Regions from separate parts of the Homo sapiens genome. Here regions 1, 2, 4 and 5 are each linked to region 3. The links are contacts of gene promoters, found by promoter capture Hi-C in blood cells and fetal thymus (Javierre and others, 2016). All regions are on one chromosome and are shown on one strand. Each heading gives the region's core, a stretch centred on a gene start or on the middle of the fragment in contact. The rest is flanking DNA. Distances are from core to core; before and after follow the strand shown. Region 1 overlaps CALD1 (caldesmon 1). Region 2 overlaps LOC124901750 (a long non-coding RNA gene). Region 3 holds the start of TMEM140 (transmembrane protein 140). Region 4 overlaps BPGM (bisphosphoglycerate mutase). Region 5 overlaps LOC124901750 (a long non-coding RNA gene).

Region 1 (2,700 bases), core at 28-2,527, 280 kb after region 3:
GTCCCCAGGCAGTAATCCCTCATTTCCTGCCCTACCCCTACTCAGTGCTGAATTCTTTTCAGCAACATTGGTTAGGAAACAAACTCTCAACCAATGAAGGGATGAAAAGTCAAGACAGGGTGATTCCATCAGTCGTGAGGCTCTGGGTGTCACAAATAGAGTAGTGTGAAAGAGCTAAGTATTGATGTTAGTGACAGATGATGCGTTCTCGGAGAGTTTTATGAAAATCTAAATTTTTGTGCTGGAGGAGGGACTGTGGTCATGCTATTGAAAAATTTACTGAGGTGACTTCTTTTGTAAAGAGGGGAAAAACAAAAACCTTAACAGAGGCAGATGTCATTACCTATGGATATGTCTGTGTTTTCAATATGGATTCTCATAGATAGGATTTTCTTTTAAAACAGGGCATGCCTAAACTGCCATGATTAAGAAATAAGTCAGTGTTAAAGGTTTCAGGCCAGATGCAGTGGCTCATGCCTGTAATCCCAGCACTTTGGGAGGCCAAGGTGGGTGGATCACTTGAGGTCAGGAGTTCGAGACCAGCCTGGCCAACACGGTGAAACCCCATCTTTACTAAACACACAAAAAATTAGCTGGGTGTGATGGCAGGTGCCTATAATCCTAGCTACTCAGGAGGCTGAGGCAGGAGAATCACTTGAACTCGTGAGGTGGAGGTTGCAGTGAGCTGAGATTGAGCCGCTTCACTCCAGTCTGAGCGACAGAGCGAGACTCCATCTCAAAAAAAAAAAAGGAAAGAAAAAAGATTTCAAATCACCAAACACACTGCCCTTCCTTTTTTTTTTTTTTGAGATGGAGTTTCACTCTTGTCACCCAGGCTGGAGTGCAATGGCGCGATCTCGGCTCACTGCAGCCTTTGCCTCCCAGGTTCGAGAAATTCTCCTGCTTCAGCCTCCTGAGTACCTGGGATTACAGGTGTATACCGCCACACCCGGCTAATTTTTATTTTTAGTAGAGACGGGGTTTCACCGTGTTGGCCAGGCTGGTCTCTAACTCCTGACCTCAGGTGATCCTCCCCTCGGCCTCCCAAAGTGCTGGGATTACAGGCATGAGCCACCGCACCCAGCCTGCCCTTCTTTTTGAACAAAGCCACGAGCCTGCGGCCCAGGGGATTGGCATGATGTGACGAGAGGCGTGTCCTGCATCTTACCACCACGCCAGGGCTTCCGGGACTTTCCTCTCTTTCCTTTCCTTCCTCCTTGCTTTTTTTTCTCTGCCTCTTTTCAAAGGCAGAATATTGAGTGGTATTTCTTCTGACATTAAAAAAAATTTTCTCTTTCTTTGTGACTTTTTTTTCTTCTCTGTCTCCCACCCTGTGTCGGAAATGAAAGTATATTTATATTTATTAAAATCAATTTATGGCTCGTTTCCTTTAAAAATTTAGTTCAATAGCTGATGTGCATCTTTCAACCAAGAAATGTATTATGTTTTATATTCTTTTTTGCTGTTTTTCTTTTTCCCTCTATGGGCATGTAGCCCTCACTATAGATATTTCCTGTGATGCCTTTATAAGGGGAACTAGTAAGTTTCTGCTTTTGTTTGGGTCAGTGTTGGTGGCAGATAAGCCATTTTAGGTGTGTGTGGGTATGCTCACCTGTGTCACCTGTGCATGAGCACGTGTGTAAATGCAGTCAAGGCAGGAGATGTTTGTGAGCAGGTGGCTAACCCAGCACTCAACACTTAGGGACAAGGCCATGTGGAAGAAGCTAAGTCTTATCTACTTTTTGGGCAGTGCCAGTATTGATCTTGGAATGCAAGAAGAATAAAATCTGTTGTGTCAGGGGCACTGAATAAGTTAATGCAGCATCCAAAAGGAACTAACATTTATTGAATATGTACTATGTGGCAGGCTGTTTTTTAAGCCTTTAACATTTTTAATGAATAGACTTATTTCTTAGAGCAGAAAAAAAGCGAATAGAGAGTACAGAGTTTCCATATATTCCCCCCTCCCCAACTCCTGCCCACATTTTCTCCTGCATTTGGAGATAGAGTCTTTGCAGATGTAGTCAAGATGAGGTGATTAGGGTGGTCCCTTATCCAATATGATGGTGTCCTTATGAAAAGGGGAAATTTGGCACAGAGACAGACAAACACAGAGGGGAGATAATGTGAAGACATGGTGAGATGCCATGAGAAAATGGAGACAAGGAAGACCTAAGGCCACCAGAAAGCTGAGAAAGAGAAATGGGACAAACCCTTCCCCAGTGCCTTCAGAGGGAGCCTGGCCATGCTGACACCTCCATTTCAAACTTCAACTCTCCGTAACAGTGGGACAAGAAATTACTGTTATTATAGACCAACTAGTGTGTGGTACTTTGTTATGGCAGCCCTAGGAAACTTAGGAACATCTTGCAGTAGTGTGGTACATTTGTTCCAATTGACAAACCAGTATTCATGCATTATGATTAACTAAAGTTCATAGTTTACATTAAGGTTCACTCTTTGTTGCACAGTTTCATAGGTTTCACCAAATACCGAATGTCATGTATTCACCATAGTAGCATCATACAGAATAGCTTCACTGCCCTAAAAACCCCACCTGCTCCACTCATTTATCCCTTCCCTCTCCTTACTCCAAAACCCTGGCAATCACTGATGTTTTTATGTCTCTACAGCTTTGAGTTTTCCAGAATATCATATAGTTGGAATCATACAGTATGTCTGTAGCCTTTTCTGATTGGC
Region 2 (2,700 bases), core at 85-2,584, 440 kb after region 3:
TCTTTTCAATTCCCAAAGATCACTGATTTTTCTCTTTATTGGGTTATAGACAATAATGTGCACTCTTCCCTTAACCCACTGATTTGTTTCCACTCTCCAACAACAGTAAAAATTATAGCAATCCTATGTTATGCATCTTCTATGTTCCAGAAACAATGTTGGGTGCTCGACATAAGCATATCATCTCATTTGACACTGACCTTAACTCTGCGTGTGGGTGTTATTAGCCCTGCTTGATAGGTAAGGAATCTGAGGTTCAGCGAAGCATGCCTCAGTAACCAAAAGTATCGTATTATTTTCATAATTATATTGCAGTGTGGCTTTGAGGTTTGGCAGATGTGAGCTTGAACCCTAGCCCTGACACTCACTGTAGTGGGACTTTGGATGAGTTGCTCAACTCTCCTGGACCCATTTCCCCGGGGTGCAAGGAGTCCCAGTGAGGGCCAAGAACTCCCTTTGGGTGTGAGGAAGAGGGTTTGCAGGTGGTACCATGGAGTGTATGGTTCTTGATCAGTTCACCCCTCTCTAGGGTACTCTGGGAAGGTCAAGTTCTCAAACTCCCCAAAGTCTCAAAATCCCCAAGAAGCCCCTTTCTGGAATTTGGGGTTTGCTTATGACTCCCTAGGAGTAGCTGAAGTTTTTCTAAGAGGACACGAACTTCTCACATTTCCTGAAATACTTTTCAGAGGGGTCTCCAGGGCCCACCTCAGAAAAAGTCTATTGGCAATGAGGTCCTGTGGTTTCTCAAAGTTAAATTGTGATAGGTTTGGCCCTTCCATCTGTTCTAATGAGCAAAGGGACTTCTTTGCTTGGTAGTTAGCCCTGCGTAGTGGGTGTATCCCAGGTCCCTACAACATTCAAAGTACTACCACACAGTGTTTACTAAGGTGACCCAGGAAAATTTCTTTAGCCATTATATGCAGAAAAAAAAAAAAGTGGAATGAAATCGCAGAAAGGCTTAGCCAAGGGCACTTTGAAATTCACAATACTCTATCAGAAAAGTCTCTACAGAAACAGTACTCCTGTAGGCTCTTGGTTATAAATATTTAAAGGTCTGAACACACGGAATGCCAAATTTGTCTATCGGCTCTGCAAATAAAACAACCTATTAATTATCCATTAGTACTACACATTTCCTAATTTATACATGCCTCAAATTGAGCTGTCCCTCCCTTATACAGTGGTTTGGCTGCTCCCTGGGGTGACCTAAGTGAGTCAGCTGCAAAGGAGACTGATGCTTTTATTTGCAGTTTGTTCTCAGCCTTTGACCTCAAAGAAACTGCTTTCGTAAGCGGGTAGGACTCTGCTTGGTGGGGGTGGCAGGGGGCAAATGCTTTCAGAACAACCCATCAGTGACATCCTGTGACCTGCAACGAAAGGCCTATGAGAGTAAGGGCCTCCTTTCTCAGCACGCCTTTCTCCTCACCCTAGTAATGCCTCAGACCATGTTTACGCCAGAATTAACATACTTCGGGGAAGCATGCAAAAGGAAATCAAATCTCCCTTTGCCTGGGCTTTGAGAATTTCTGAGCGATTTCTCACCTCCATTCTGCCTTATGCTTAGCTCTCTGAACACGGTGGCTTAGAAGAAGAAGCAGCACTGAGATCAAACTCTGCTTCTCTACCCCGAACACCTTCTGTCTGAAAAGAAGCAGAGAAAAAAGAAAGAGCTGGTCCTTGTTTTGTCGGTGAGAAGAATGGACCACATCAGTGGTTCTAAACCTGAAGCCTAAGAGTCAGCTGAGATGCTGGTTAAAATCCAGATTCCTGGGTCCCATCCCCAGTGGCCCTGGTTCATTAGTTCAAATTCCCCTGCGGATGGCTTCCAGACTAGCTTCTAGGGAGACATGGTAATCACTTAGTCCACCCAAGCTGATACAGCCTAAGGTTTTATAGGTCATTGACCCCCGCTATTCCTGGCAGCCTGGGGCCAGACAGCCAGTTCTCATCAAGCCTTTAACCAGTCACTGCCTCACTGATGTTAGATGTGACCTGGGCTTCCTGGTCAAATTCCTGATCATCCTGTCTTCCTCAATAATAACAACTCAAAGTTCCCGTGTTCTTCTTCCTCTGTAGTCAGAGATACCTTAAAAGCAAGGCAAAGAGAAACAAGAGAAGCTGGTTTATAGCTGAAGGGAAAGGCTCTTTGATCCATCTTTCTCTCACCACTGCCTGCTCCTTCTGTTCCATTCCTTCCTGTAATAGGCACAGTCATCATTTTTATGTTTTTTAAATAAATAAAAGCACAATCATGTCAGGGCTGAGCAGCACCTTTGAGAGGATCTGATCCCCTTCCTTACTGTTCAGGCAAGAAAACTGAAGACAGAGGTTAAGGAACTTGCCAAACGTCACAGCCAGCAGAGGTAGTGGTGGGATTTGAACCCAGGCAGTCTGGCTCCAGCACGCAGGCTTGTAGCCAGAATGTTCCACAATGCATAGATGCAATAAGAAAGCTGATCTAATAGCACAAGACAGGCGAGCATAACAATGTCGGGAAGACCCATGCAGAGGGCAGGGGAAAGGTTATCCTTGTGCTATTCTTGTAATTTTGTTCAACAAAATTGTCAGCATGTGGGCAGAAAAAGAGGCAAAGCCACACACTGTCTTAACCATTTGTAAGCACAGACTATATCACAAAGGGGATTAAAGCTCACATGGTCGGATTCTGGCCTCTCTCACTCCCTTCTCCTAACTCACAAG
Region 3 (2,700 bases), core at 154-2,653:
TTACTTTTGGCACAAAATGGGAAGCAGCTTGAAAGTCCAATATCAGAAGTAAACTATGATGTATCAAGGATAAAATACTATGCATCTTTTAGAAAAAGCAGGTATAAAATCACTCTACATAGTGTGACTACATCCATATAAAGAGGCATAGGAGAAAGAGACTAAAGAAGTATTTGAAAATGTTAATGTTAGCTGTGGTAGCTCTGGGTGGTGACATTACAGGCAATTGTTCTCTATTTGCAGTAAAATATTTTTAGAATTATGTGCTACATTTATGAAAAAAAAAGAAATTTATAAAACAGGCATTCAAAACAGCCTTAGTAATTAGATAAAGCAGGGACTAAGCTGGAAAGAAAGTTGAGAAAGGGGAATATGTGCAAGATTGAAAAAATATCTCATGGACTGAGTCTCAGACCTGAGATTTTGGGGAATGGGGTATGGTAAGTGGATACTGAAAAATGCTCTTCAGTTATCATGAGGGAAGAAGGAAATATGTGTCTTTTCCCTCTTTCAAAGGAGCCTTTGATTTTATAGGCGAAGAAGCATAGTGGAAGTTATTAGTGAAACTAAGCCCACATTAAAAAAAATCTCTTAAAATATGCATCAAGAGAACTAAAATACCACCATGGATTTCCACTGGGGCATGAGGAGCAATCTGGTCTAATGACTAACATAAGATCTAAACATCTCTTAGGTCCCATTCTTTGAGGCAAGAACACAAGTTTTTCTGTTGATATTAATCTTCAGTGTGTATTTTAAAGTTTTATGATGTGTTCGTAACTACCATTGAATAGTGGTTTAGTTAGTGTTGGTCGGTGACCTGCTTTTGTTTACCTATTTCTGATGAACAGTGTATTGCACAAGCCACAGCCATGTCCTTGTACACACTGCGTGCAAGACTCTGCTGTGTGCAGTCAGCCCTGCATCGTTTCTAACCAGTTATACTGGCCTTACTTTCATCATCTTTGAGGCCAGAGCTACACATGTTGATGCCGAAGAGTGGAAGGAAGGAGAGCAGAGAGTAAAGGGGGTAGATTATGTAGATTATACAGACATGAGCGAGGGAGGGTCACAGATACTGAACAACCAGTGAGTTCCCCTATGTGGATTGCCAGAACATGAAATATCTGAGAAGAAAACAAAATTGTCTTACAAGGTAGTAGACGTCTGGGTAAGCTGTGATGCTTGCAGGATCGGTACTTACAGAAAGGAGGTGCAGAGACCACAGGAACACTCATGAAAAGGAGAAGCAGGAAATCAGGGTTGGTTGTTTGAATCTTCCTTCTCGCTGGCTTTCTAATGTCAGACTCCAGAAAGGAGGAGTGGAAGGGAAATGGCAGGCAGATGCAGTCCTGAGCTGGTGCCCCCTTGCCTTCGCAGTCGTGCCTAGTAAACAGCTCTCTGAACTTTGGTACATTTGTTCTGACTGATGTCACTATCAGCTGATTTCACTTTCGTTTCCTAACTTGCCAGTGGCCCATGACTTTTCAGAAATGAGGTATGTAAACAACTTTTTATTGTCCATTATGACATACTCTTTACCTACACTGTAGCCGGCAAACCAACTGATTTAAAGAGCCAGGTAAATGTCTTGATTATATCACACAATAATTCCAGAAAGGGAAGGAGCCAAAGAACTCTCGAAGCTCCCAGTGATTTAAACTGCAAGATAAACACAACCCGGAATTTTATTCAGAAGAAACCCATCAGGATCATCTGGTCCAAGCTCCCAGCCAGTGTGGCAGTCAGGACCCAGGTCACCTCCTACTCATTTCCTTGGGAAGCAGCTATGCCGTCTGTCCCCCAACCCCTTTTAGAGATCAATTTTGTAATGATGACTGGGCTTCTCTGGACACAAAACTTTGTGTCCTGAGCATTCTCACTGCAGTGTTTAGGCCCATGTTGGAGCAGCTGGAACATCTATTTTATTTCAAAATAAGAGCCGAACAAAGCTTTTATTTTTGTAAGCATTGGGGCTCCTGGCCAGAGTTTAAAAATTGCTTCCGTTGCTCACATGACCAACTGGAAATTTCAACTGTGGGTTAAACTTGGTTACATGAGACTGCTACCTAGTGCTATTGCTGAATCCTTCAGCGGTTCTCTTCTGCTTCCTTGCCCTTCCTCCAAAGGAGGAGTTATTTGAACTGCTACATTGCCCTCCCCCTGCCCCTAGTTCTTTTAAACGCAAACTCTAGAAAGAGGTGATGGGATCCAGGAGGAAGGAAGAACAGAGGCTTTGAGATCAGAGAGTTCTGCTACATACTAGCAAATTATTTAATCTCTTTGAGCATCAATTTCTTATCTGTAAAATGGAAACAGTACCTACTTTGCATGGTTGCTCTGGGGACTGGAGATAATATAAGTGCTTAGTACAATACTGGGACCATAGTAATGGTAGCTATTATTATGAAAAGTGGAATTTCTGTATATTTAGTCTAGCATCCATATTAATGCCTTTAAGACAGAAAATTAACTTTTAGATACTAATATACAGTAGTTACTCTGAAAACTCAATACTGGTGAGTGAAGTGATATAGAAGAGATAGAAACATATTTATATTTATGAAATTTATTCAAGGTTATCATGTACCTAGTTTTCAAAGAGTCAGTTTTTCAAAACTTACGAAAATCGGCAGTCCCACACTCTCCCTTTCTTCCTCTTCAGAGGCAAGCACTTTCACCTGTGCTCATTCTTTAGGC
Region 4 (2,700 bases), core at 5-2,504, 470 kb after region 3:
TTTAGAAAAACCATTCTCAGTGTACTGGGATACGGTACTAGTTTGAGAGGCTTTTTAAAAGTTAAAACTCTGGGAGCAGCTGATGTTGCTATTGCCTTTATCTTGCCACACTGACCCACATGGGACAATCATCTCAGCCTGGGCAGAGGAGACATGCATAGCTGGCTCCAGGGAAAGCGTAAACTGGCAGCAGGATAGGCTGCCTCCTCCAAGGACCTAATTCCTAGATAGGCTGTCTTTTTTTTCTTCAGTAGAGACAAAGTCTTGCTATGTTGCCTAGGCTGCTCTCGAATTTCTCAGCTCGAGCAATCCTCCTGCCTCAGCCTCCCAGAGTGCTGGGATTACAGGCAGGGGCCACCATGGCTGGGCTGGTCATTGTCATTCCCTCTTTTTTTTTTATAGGAGAAAATAAATCCCTAATTTCTGTCCCAGCCTCAGAATAGAAGGATGCCAAGACTGGGATAGAGAATAAGCAGCCTTCAAGATTCCTGCATCAGAAATTCTGGATAAACTGTTAACAATGCAAAGAAAACAGGTTCACTAGGTGATCCTAAGGTTGAAGTGCTGGAGTTGTTAACTAATTTTAAGTGACATTTAAAAAAATGTCTTGGCCGGGCACGGTGGCTCACGCCTGTAATCCCAGCACTTTGGGAGGCCGAGGGGGGTGGATCACGAGGTTGGGAGATTGAGACCATCCTGGCTAACATGGTGAAACCCCATCTCTACTAAAAATACAAAAAATTAGCCAGGTGTGGTGGCGGGCACCTGTAGTCTCAGCTACTCGGGAGGCTGAGGCAGGAGAATGGCATGAACCCGGGAGGTGGAGCTTGCAGTGAGCCGAGGTCGTGCCACTGCACTCCAGCCTAAGCAAAAGTGTGAGACTCCGTCTCAAAAAAAAAAAAAAAAAGGCTCTTCTGTTCATATTTTTTCAGCCAAGATCTCAAAAACAGTAAGACCAAATTGTATCACAGAGTACTGTATTAGCAAAAATCATCCTTTTCTTGGGAAGCCTGTGAGATTCTAAAGTGACTGGATATGACAGTTGCTTTGTGTGCAGAAGCACATCATGCTGCCAGAAGGTTCCCTGGAAGAAGATACCTTGATGCAGGACAATGGAAGAATCCAACTCTAGGATCTTGAAGTACATTAAGACATGGTCACCCCTTGGGCTGGAAAACTCAGAGGCCAGTTCCAGAGATGATGATATTCAAAAATGGTGTGAATATCACTATGGCAGCCTAGCCATAGGTTTGGAATTCTACGAACATCATCTGGTAGTTGCATTCTTGACCCTGATATTTGAATTCTAGAGTATTACTTGGTTAATCAACACCACTAAAACGAAGGGGCTACACTAGAGAAACCAATAGTAGGTAATTAATAAATGTAAAGCATCCACATTCCATGTCCTTATGCATCACAGATGTGGCCAGCTGCAGGCAGAGCAGGTTCTTCTTTTCAACCATCTTCTTTGGCTAATCGTTAAAAGTCTTGCGTTAATAATCAAATGGAGACAAAGCAGTAGCAAAAATACTTTAAAGTTAGTATTCTTCAAATGCCAATTGTACTATAAAGTGGATAAAAATAAACTAATCCAATGAAAAACCATGAAAAAAATGGAAAATATCTATAACAGGTATTATAGCTACAAATGTTTTACATGACTTTATCATCGAAATATATGTGACCTGCTTTGAAACAGAGTCAACGGCTTAAAGAAATGATGACTTACGTACCCACAGCATCTAAAACATAGTGCAAAAGAGTATCATTAAGACAGATATGCAATCGTGTCCATGGCCTACCCTGACTGCTCCGTGCTACATACCATAATCTTTTGCCATCAGTTAGTTAATGAACAAATTTATGTCACAAGCCCCAATATACCATTCCCTCTGCTTATGTGAATGAAGTTACATGCACTGTATTCTACCTTCCCTGCTTCATGCTTCAACATATAGAAAATCATGAGTATCTGTTGTGTTGAAATAAGTGCAATTCTTTCTTTGAGTGTTACAGGAAAGTATGAGTCAAAGACTAGTTTAGAAGCCTACCTAAAATTCACCAAACACACGGAGACACTTTGGGGATGCCATTTTCAGTCACTTTATTATCAGGAACTTTATTTTTAAACTAATTACAGGTACCCAAAGTTCAAAAAATTAAAACAAACCAAAATGAGAACCTCAACAGCCATAGTTGTTTATTTGCTGCTTATTCTTGTGGCCAAAGAGGAATTCTACTAAATGTCAAATGAAGGATGTCTCTAAACTAGAAGACAAGTTAAAGGGCCTTGTTGTCATTTCTGTCATTGTGGTGGTGGTTGTTGGCTTTCTTGGAGAAATATATCTGTGACTTTCTCAACTAATGGGCCTCTGGCCTTAATTATCAAAGTATCCCTTTTCCTAGAGGAAAAGACTAGTAATAAATACATACGGTATATTATCTAATATCCCTTACTGTTATCCCAGAAAATCTTATTAAATATTAAAGTGAACTACTGATTAGAATAGTGCCTGTCAATGGTGACTCAATAATGATTTCTTGAATGATAAATACCTTTAACTTCATCTCTACTTGTTGCTCTCCCATCTCAGAAACTTATGACCTTCATTAAGCCCCACTAGTTACTAGTTTGGTGACCGACTAGGGGGCTAGCAAGAAAGCTAACTCATAAGGCTATGACATAAGCACTGAGGC
Region 5 (2,700 bases), core at 70-2,569, 430 kb after region 3:
TTCCAAGGCTGGCAGGACTCCAGGGTCATGAAGTACCCCATCCTTTTTTTTTTTTTTTTTGCAGATGACTTAAACCAGGCTCAGTGAGTTGAAAGGCCCAAAGTCACTGCAGTTAATCAGAAAATTAAATTAACTGAAAATCGCCGTTCTTGAAAATATCCTATTCCCAGGCATTTTCTTGCACCCCTAAGGGGAACATTCTTCTCTTCCAGAGGGCTGCTCCACTGCTCTTGCCACAACTGTGGGGGACACAGGGAGGCCACAGAGCCTCCTGTTCCAGCGGCCTATAGCGAATATCAGGAACAGCCCCAGGCTGTTGGGCTACAGGTAGGGAGAAGATTCAGAGGGTCTGTTAGGCAGACCACAGCTTTGCTAAGAAGTTACATGGCAAACACCAAATCACCAGTTCTCAACTCTTTGTTTGATGCTATTACTTTTATAATCTATGGTTCCCTTTAAATCTAGTGTAATATGACAAGCTTATAATTCAAAACACATTTGTACAAAATGTAAAATACACACTGTACAAGCCCATGAATATAAGACACAATGTTCCCTTCAGGCCTCCTACTGAAAGCAGACAACACTTCTTCAAATCATCTGACATTTCTTGTCTGCTAGCTTGAAGACCCTTCATTCCCCACTCTCTGTTGTTTTCCTATTGACCAACTGCTACATTTCATGTGGGTCCTCTTGCTCATGTATGAGTGCATGTTAAGCGTTTGTTTTCCTTTAGGACAGACATTCCCTGCTGTGTTTTTCCTGGATTTGGACTATTTTTACTATTTACTTTATGTTGCCATGGAGATGGGGAGATCACAGATGTTAAGCGTTGGAATCTGGGGCCACAGGAGACATTTATCATTGTACTTTGTATGAAGTAGGCTCTTGTTCCCCATTTCTGCAAAGCCTCATGTTTATTTTATAAAGAAGTTACTAATGAGGACTCAGGCCTAATAAATAATGGGAAACTCTGCTTCACCTCCATGGCACATGCTTATTACAACAGCGATCTTATTAGGAAGGAAGGTAGAGCTCCTGAACACACAGAGATTAGCAGCCGTCAGTTTTTTCCTCTGCAGGAAATAGAAGGATGCATCAGAACAAGGGGCCCATTCATCATTCTTTCCCAGCTCCTTGAAGAAGAGAAACTTTCCCAAATTATTTCAACTATGCTCTGCAAGGAAAAAAAAAAAAAAAAAAAAGAGGAGGGCTAACCAGAGTGCCACTGTCGTCACTAACAAATGTTTGCTGATTACTGGTGAACAAAGGGTGAGTCTGACTTCAGCAAAATACAGTGGGTGAAGTTTACAAAGGCTACATTCTAAAAAATACTAAACATAGGTGCTGAAAGCATACACGCTAACCAAAGCGGGGGTTAAGAAACCCAGCTTTTATTCTTTTGAAGGATCTGTGTAGCTCAAAGTACAACTGAGTTGAAACAGAGATACAAACAAGAAAACAAACACTCACTGCGGGCATCTTTGGCGATTGATGTGAACATTTCGGGGGCATCTTTGGTGATTGATGTGAACATTTCGGGATTTGAACATTTTGGCTTTTGAACAGGTAACTCTCAAAATTCATTCCCTTAAGACTCAACCAAGGTAACTTTTGGCTTCTGTCACCTTGTCCAAACCAGATTGGGGTCCTTAAAAGCTCTTTTTTGCACACACACAAGGCCGTTGACGTCCAAGCAAAACAAAATGGACAAACACATATCGGACAATGGCCATTGATGGGCCCAGCTACACTCTTCCTGTGCTTGGAGAAATCTCTCCTATCCCCCCTCGCAAACTACCGGTTTCTTTCCCTGGACGCTGTTCTCTGCCTGCTCTTTCTAGGAGACAATGATGACTGCCCCATTTCCCTGGACTCTAGCCCTTTGCCTGATTGGTACTTTATTTAGATTGGCTGTTTGGCTCTTCCTAGGCTTCACCCTGGGTGCTCTGCTACTTTTTACAGGTCTACACCAAGTTCCTCTGGCGAGCCTCATAACCCTGTTCTGCTCCCAACTCTTGTTGTAGGGACCCCAGCCCTCTATTTGCCCTGTAAAGTTATTTGGACATATTTTTTTATCCCTTTTTGTCTCTCCTCTTTCTATTTTTTTCTTCCTTATTTATTCTTCACTTCTCCCTTTCCTTCTTCTCTGAAGCTTAAATTTTCTCTTTAAACAATCATTTTTCCGTTCCCAGTGACCTTCATAATTTGGTCTGAAAGTTAATATTTCTGTAGCTAAAATGTTTTAAGAGGCAATAGTGGCAGAAAGAACATTGGACTAGCTTCAGACCTTAGTTCTAACATTTGTGAGCTGTAGGATATTGGGGAAAATAATGTCCTTATACCTCAGTTTCTTCATTTGCAAAATGGAGATAATACTCTATAGTGTACACAGTAGTCATGAGGCTAGCATGGGTGAGAACCACTGATAGGTTCCCAGTAAAAGGTAATTATTTCATTCAACTTGACTCAAAAATTTATTTGGCAAGTGTTATTCATCTAGGTATGACATCTAAGCAATAGTGACAATATTTTGGGGAAATAAAAACTCCAGAAACAGTTGTCAAGAACTGCTAAGGGTCTTAGATTTTACCCTTCTTGAAAACTAGCAACCAGTATAAGACATGAGACTTCTGGGTCAGAGACAAAGAATTTTATTATTCACAACAACAGCAGTAGCCAACGTCTTCTGATTGCAAC

The links. Contacts are between HindIII fragments. The CHiCAGO score rates a contact against its expected background, and 5 or more counts as called.
Region 1: a fragment that was not itself captured here is called in contact with the fragment with the promoter of TMEM140 in region 3 in 1 of 17 cell types (naive CD4 T cells); the score reaches 6.4 in naive CD4 T cells.
Region 2: a contact is called between a fragment that was not itself captured here and the fragment with the promoter of TMEM140 in region 3, in 1 of 17 cell types (naive CD8 T cells). The highest score is 5.0, in naive CD8 T cells.
Region 4: a contact is called between a fragment that was not itself captured here and the fragment with the promoter of TMEM140 in region 3, in 2 of 17 cell types (non-activated CD4 T cells and naive CD8 T cells). The highest score is 5.8, in non-activated CD4 T cells.
Region 5: a fragment that was not itself captured here is called in contact with the fragment with the promoter of TMEM140 in region 3 in 2 of 17 cell types (non-activated CD4 T cells and total CD4 T cells); the score reaches 6.1 in non-activated CD4 T cells.

What each region holds. Positions count from the first base shown.
Region 1 is chr7:134,862,455-134,865,154 of GRCh38, reverse strand. All of the region lies in intron 2 of CALD1 (caldesmon 1), which reads right to left. Among named protein-coding and RNA genes, the nearest start is that of CALD1, 84 kb to the right of the region's middle. The HindIII fragment of the contact is 8,480 bases long and covers 1-2,700 here.
Region 2 is chr7:134,702,594-134,705,293 of GRCh38, reverse strand. All of the region lies in intron 1 of LOC124901750 (a long non-coding RNA gene), which reads left to right. Among named protein-coding and RNA genes, the nearest start is that of BPGM, 57 kb to the right of the region's middle. RefSeq lists silencers at 1,322-1,532, 2,103-2,397. The HindIII fragment of the contact is 3,656 bases long and covers 1-2,700 here.
Region 3 is chr7:135,146,775-135,149,474 of GRCh38, reverse strand. It overlaps TMEM140 (transmembrane protein 140), which reads right to left and starts at 1,403. Exons shown (of 2, transcript NM_018295.5): 1 at 1,205-1,403. It also overlaps a transcript of CYREN not described here. RefSeq lists an enhancer at 1,125-1,624. The HindIII fragment of the contact is 6,449 bases long and covers 1-1,954 here.
Region 4 is chr7:134,679,199-134,681,898 of GRCh38, reverse strand. BPGM (bisphosphoglycerate mutase) reads right to left here. Exons shown (of 3, transcript NM_001724.5): 3 at 2,083-2,700. All of the region lies in intron 1 of LOC124901750 (a long non-coding RNA gene), which reads left to right. Among named protein-coding and RNA genes, the nearest start is that of BPGM, 34 kb to the right of the region's middle. The HindIII fragment of the contact is 8,564 bases long and covers 1-2,700 here.
Region 5 is chr7:134,718,690-134,721,389 of GRCh38, reverse strand. All of the region lies in intron 1 of LOC124901750 (a long non-coding RNA gene), which reads left to right. It also overlaps a transcript of CALD1 not described here. Among named protein-coding and RNA genes, the nearest start is that of CALD1, 60 kb to the left of the region's middle. The HindIII fragment of the contact is 1,676 bases long and covers 482-2,157 here.